Linked DNA regions of Homo sapiens: region 2 is linked to region 1. Evidence: promoter capture Hi-C in 16 types of primary human blood cells and fetal thymus (Javierre and others, 2016). All regions are on one chromosome and are shown on one strand. The core of a region is centred on a gene start or on the middle of the fragment in contact, and the rest is flanking DNA. Distances in the headings are between cores, read along the strand shown. Region 1 holds the start of TBX18 (T-box transcription factor 18). Region 2 overlaps LINC01611 (long intergenic non-protein coding RNA 1611).

Evidence for each region. Contacts are between HindIII fragments. The CHiCAGO score rates a contact against its expected background, and 5 or more counts as called.
Region 2: a fragment that was not itself captured here is called in contact with the fragment with the promoter of TBX18 in region 1 in 1 of 17 cell types (endothelial precursors); the score reaches 5.3 in endothelial precursors.

The regions. Positions count from the first base shown.
Region 1 is chr6:84,763,291-84,766,017 of GRCh38, reverse strand. TBX18 (T-box transcription factor 18) reads left to right here and starts at 1,420. Exons shown (of 8, transcript NM_001080508.3): 1 at 1,420-2,128. The coding sequence starts at 1,837. All of the region lies in intron 1 of LOC124901353 (a long non-coding RNA gene), which reads right to left. RefSeq lists enhancers at 1,213-1,507, 1,519-2,102, 2,103-2,687. The HindIII fragment of the contact is 3,607 bases long and covers 1-2,727 here.
Region 2 is chr6:84,451,452-84,454,151 of GRCh38, reverse strand. The region is part of intron 3 of LINC01611 (long intergenic non-protein coding RNA 1611); the gene reads left to right. LOC107986620 (a long non-coding RNA gene) reads right to left here. Exons shown (of 4, transcript XR_001744236.1): 2 at 825-885. Among named protein-coding and RNA genes, the nearest start is that of LINC01611, 22 kb to the left of the region's middle. The HindIII fragment of the contact is 607 bases long and covers 1,129-1,735 here.

The DNA of each region.
Region 1 (2,727 bases), core at 171-2,670:
AAAAATTCCTTTGTCATATATATATATATATATATACACACACACACATATGGAGACAGAGAGAGAGACAGAGACGGAGTCTTGCTGCGTCGCCAGGCTGGAGTACAGTAGCGCGATCTGGGCTCACTGCAACCTCCGCCTCCCGAGTTCAAGCGATTCTCCTGCCTCAGCCTCCCGAGTAGCTGGGACTACAGGCGTGCACCACCACGCCCAGCTACTATTTGTATTTATTTATTTATTTAGTAGAGACGGGGGTTTCACCATGTTGGCCAGGATGGTCTCGATCTCTTGACCTCGTGATCCGCCCGCGTAGGCCTCTCAAAGTGCTGGGAATACAGGCGTGAGCCACCGCGCCCGGCCTGCCGTGTATTTTATACAAAAGATGGAGTAATATGCACGATTAATTTTATTCCACAAGAGATTTGCTCTATTTATACCAAACATATATATATATATTTGTTAATCCTAACAAAAAGTCGAGTTGAAACTACAAAACAAATTGTACAAATATATATGTTTGGTGTCATTTAATTAAAAAGCACTGATTTTATTAAATTTGTTTTAAATACATCAATGGACTCCTTAAAAGCCTGAAGTAACGATTGTAAATTGTCAACAGTAGGACAAATATAAACTTACTTAAATCACAGAGAAGTTTTTCAAATGGGGAATTTTATTGCGTCTTCATACTTATTTCATTTTGCGAAGTTTTAAGGGGTTTTAAAGTTGTCCATATCGTTAAAGACGTACAGAATGAAAATCCCATGACCTACGTTTTAAAATAACTACCACTCTTTGAAAGAAAAGGTGGGCTGCGGAAAGGGCGTGCTTTTTCTGACATTTATATGACGGACTGAGCGTTAACGTAACATTTTGCACTCCTAAAGGATTTACATATTTCTTAACCTGGTATCCCCTAAGAAAAAAATCACGGAGTAAAGTTTAAATAAGCCTAAGCCATATCTGGCGCAGACTGAGTGCAGGAACATTTAAATGAGAAAGGAGGGGCCTGCGAATTCTTCCCAGCTTCCCAATATTCTGAGTTGTAGCAACATTAAGCGATACGGAAGTGGGACGGCAATTTACGGAACCTTGAAAGATTCCTGATTTTCTAACTTGTTGAACGTCTAGTTTAAAGCCGGGAACTTCCGCCTTTCCAGGTCCTGGTGAGGAAAGCTGGAGACTACGGGGCTGGACTCAGCTACGGACGTCAGAGAGACAGAGTTCAGCGTCCGTGTGGCTGGCACATCCAAGCCAGACAGCGGCGCTTTTCACTCCTGGTTTTTCGCTACCTTGTAAGGAAGTGGGCGCGGGCTGCGCGGAGTCGGCGCCTCCTGATTGGCCGGCCGTCTGGGTGATGGACAGGGACCCGGGCTCCGCCCCCGCCGCTTTATTGACACTAATGAGCAAGTTCTTCCCACCGCTCTCCTGCCTGGAAGTGCTGACAGATCAAGGCAACAAATTTCAATTACAATCCCTAATTTGTGTCCACAGAGTGTTTTTTACCCATGTTAGTCCTCTCTGGCGCATCAGTTGAGGCAGACCTCGGAGCAGCAGGAGGAGGTGGAAGGGGTGGGAGCAAAGGAGTGCATCAGTGAGAGAGCGCGCGAGAGAGACCCAGGAAAGGAGACTTGGCCGGCGCGTCGCCGGTTCCTGGATCCCAACACAAGCGAGAAAGCGGAAACGCCAAATCTGTTTTTTGCCCGCGGTGGGGAAGGGGGCAGATCTCGGGAGGCCCCGAGAGCCTTTTAGTTTTTGGTGGGGGAAGAGCGAGAGCGCGCGTGTGCCCGCGTGAGTGTATATGAGAGAGGGGCGGGCGGGCGCGGGGCGGGGGGGATGGCCGAGAAGCGAAGGGGCTCGCCGTGCAGCATGCTAAGCCTCAAGGCGCACGCTTTCTCGGTGGAGGCGCTGATCGGCGCCGAGAAGCAGCAACAGCTTCAGAAGAAGCGGCGAAAACTGGGCGCCGAAGAGGCGGCGGGGGCCGTGGACGACGGAGGCTGCAGCCGCGGCGGCGGCGCGGGCGAAAAGGGTTCTTCTGAGGGAGACGAAGGCGCTGCGCTCCCGCCGCCGGCTGGGGCGACGTCTGGGCCGGCTCGGAGTGGCGCAGACCTGGAGCGCGGAGCCGCGGGTGAGTGGGCCCCTTCCTGCCTATAACTTCTCTCCGGCGCGAACCTGAACTTCTGCGAGTCTGTGGGTGTGCGTGCGCGCCGCGTCCCTACATGGCCAAGGCCACTCAGCCACTAGCGCATTGGCCGTGTCAGTCGCAAAGCTCGCCGCGCAACCTGGTCACCCTCCAGACGGTTCAGATACTGCTTCCAGGCTCGCCTCGCGGGCGGCCGCCGCCCACTCGGCGACCCGCGCCTTCGGCCGCGGCTGTTTGCTGCGCCTAGCGGTGCAGCTCTGTGCTTCCTGCATCTGCCTCCCTTGGGGTTCCAGCCAATGGGTGCTCTTTTTTGTTTCCTAACTTTTAAAAGCACAGGGCGGGGAGGAGGGGAGCGACGGCATACCCCACCCTGAAACCGGAACGAATGCCCTAAACCGTTTGTGCAAACCAGGAAGAGGGCGGCATATTTGGAAACTTGGTTTCCCGAAGGGTAGTTGAGCGGTTCCCTTCCCTTCTCCTCTTGATTTCTCTGCCAAGGCCGACGGCGACCGCGGGCTTGCTTTTCACACTTTTCTCTGCTGGGCTGGAAGCGCAGGGCGCCGGGAGTTTGGCGAAAGCGGGGT
Region 2 (2,700 bases), core at 183-2,682, 310 kb after region 1:
CATTGGACTTAGGGCTTACCTTAATCCAGTATTATCTCATCTTGATCCCTAACTAATTACATTGGCAATAACCCTTTTTCCAAGTACAATCATGTTCTGAGGTTCCAGGTGGACATTAATTTGGGGCAGAAACTATTAAATCTACTAAAAGGAGGAAGAGGCTTTGAGAACCACATGTGTACTTGATGCCTATGATGATATCCAGGCAGTGGGCAACTTAAAAATAGAAAAACTGATTATCCCATTTGGTTGAAATGAGCAAATTGACTGAACTAATGTTTTTATGTTATGAAGACAAAAAAATAAAAAGAGAATAATTGGAGATATGTATTCATTTAGCAGAATGATTTTTATTAGTAGAGCTGGTACAATCCCAAACAAAGAGGGACTTAATTCACAACATGCCAAGTTTCAGTGAGGCTCCCAACATTCCACTGGAAAGTCACTAGATAGTCACAGAGCATGGAGATGGGCCAAAATGAAACAGAGGAAGTGTAATAACTGAGCATATGGAAGCAATGTAGTGATTCTATTAAGAACTGACAGATAAATGCCATGGGGATTGCAAATCCATCACCTAGTTTTCAGTGATATATAAAGATCAGAGACCTAAAACACTGTTCATTTATATGTGATGTTTTTGCCCTCATCTAAATTTTCTGAAGACCTTGGCTAATGGTACAGAATGTCAATGAGAATTGAATGTGTGATCTCAGAAAATTCAGTGAATTTAGGGACTGAAGAAGAGGAAAACTGATGCTCAAGATACTAATTGATTAAAAGTAGGGTATCAAGCAGTTGAAAATGTTCTGAACAGATCTTACCAGAAGGATCCATTATAAATTGGGGTCCAGACAATACACAAAGTTGTATTGTCATTCTCACCTGTAAAGAATAAGAAAAACAGAAAGTAAATATTCTTACAGAGAATAGCGGAGCATTAAGATTCATTTGCATTTTAAGTCCATTTTATTTTGCCAATGTATTAATATTTAGAGGTCTGTTATACTAATGTTATTAATATTTTTCATTTCCATACACAGTTAACTAAAGAGCTTTTTCTTTAAAAGCTGTAATGTCTGTAAAAAATACTTTTAAATAAAGTTTATTTTGTTAAAAAAAAAAGCTTAACTTGCCAATGGAAGAAAAAAAATGAACTCAATAGATATGTGTCTTATGAGAGGTAGCTGGTGGAGGGAGAGAAGTGCTGGTAGTTATAACAGAAGTGCTAAGAATCATGGTCTAATGGGGGGACTGACTTTCATTGGCCTCTGTACTTCCTCATCATGGAGCTAGCTAAGCTCAAGGTTGACCTGAGCTTTTCTAGAAAGGTGGCATTGCAATAAAATGCAAACCATTCAAGCATGGGATGATGGTGAGAGATGGAGCACAGGCATCAAAATAATCCATTTCCTCTTTAGCTTTACTTCAAATTGATGTTACACAACTAGAGTTCAGTGAAAACAACATGACAGATTAGAAAGAGCTCACAAGAAACAACATGTTCTTAATTTTATTTATAAATGTGACCTGTGACGTGTTTGTGTTCTATCTAGCTAGAAAAGATACAAGAACTCCTTCCTTATCCCCAAATGAAAAGTTACTAGAGTACCCCATCCTTCAACAGCTGCTCCTTCAGTGACCGCTTCTTATGCCCCTGCTGTGACTTGTTCATCAGCAGCATGAGCATCACACAAATCTAAGGGATGCTTCAAGATTACTCAGGGCAAAAGCTTTTATCCCCTTGCAAAGAAATACAGGTTTGCAATCTTGATATTTCCAGAAATGAATTCACTCTTTTCTTACATCCACTAAACACAACCAAGGCATTGTGGTATTTTTCTTAAAAGTATAAAAGTATATTTATTTTTTATTTTTTTATTATACTTTAAGTTCTAGGGTACACATGCATAACGTGGAGGTTTGTTACATATGTATACATCTGCTATGTTGGTGTGCTGCACCCATTAACTGGTCATTTACATTAGGTATATCTCCTAATGCTATCCCTCCCCCCTCCCCCCACCCCACAACAGGCCCTAGTGTGTGATGTTCCCTTTCCTGTGTCCAAGTGTTCTCATTGTTCAGTTCCCACCTATGAGTGAGAATATGTGGCATTTGGTTTTTTGTCCTTGCGATAGTTTGCTGAGAATGATGGTTTCCAGCTTCATCCATGTCCCTACAAAAGACATGATAATTTTTTATGGCTGCATAGTATTCCATGGTGTATATGTGCCACATTTTCTTAATCCAGTCTATCATTGTTGGACATTCGGGTTGGTTCCAAGTCTTTGCTATTGTGAATAGTGCTGCAATAAACATAGGTGTGCATGTGTCTTTATAGCAGCATGATTTATAATCCTTTGGGTATATACCCAGTAATGGGATGGCTGGGTCAAATGGTAATTCTAGTTCTAGATCCCTGAGGAATCGCCACACTGTCTTCCACAATGGTTGAACTAGTTTACAATTATTTATGTTTAATAAGTTATATTAAATTGTCACACCCGAGTCTGGCCCAAAAGCCAGAAAAGTAGTCTTCTGATCCTTAGAATCTGCCATAGCATTAAAACATATTAAAGTTGCAGTTGATGCCTCAGAACGTTTGCAAGAATAACAGACTGAAAAACTGTGAACTCAAAGCAAATTTAGTGCCTGGCTCAAGATAGGGAATAAATCAAGAGCAAAGCAGATTTGCAT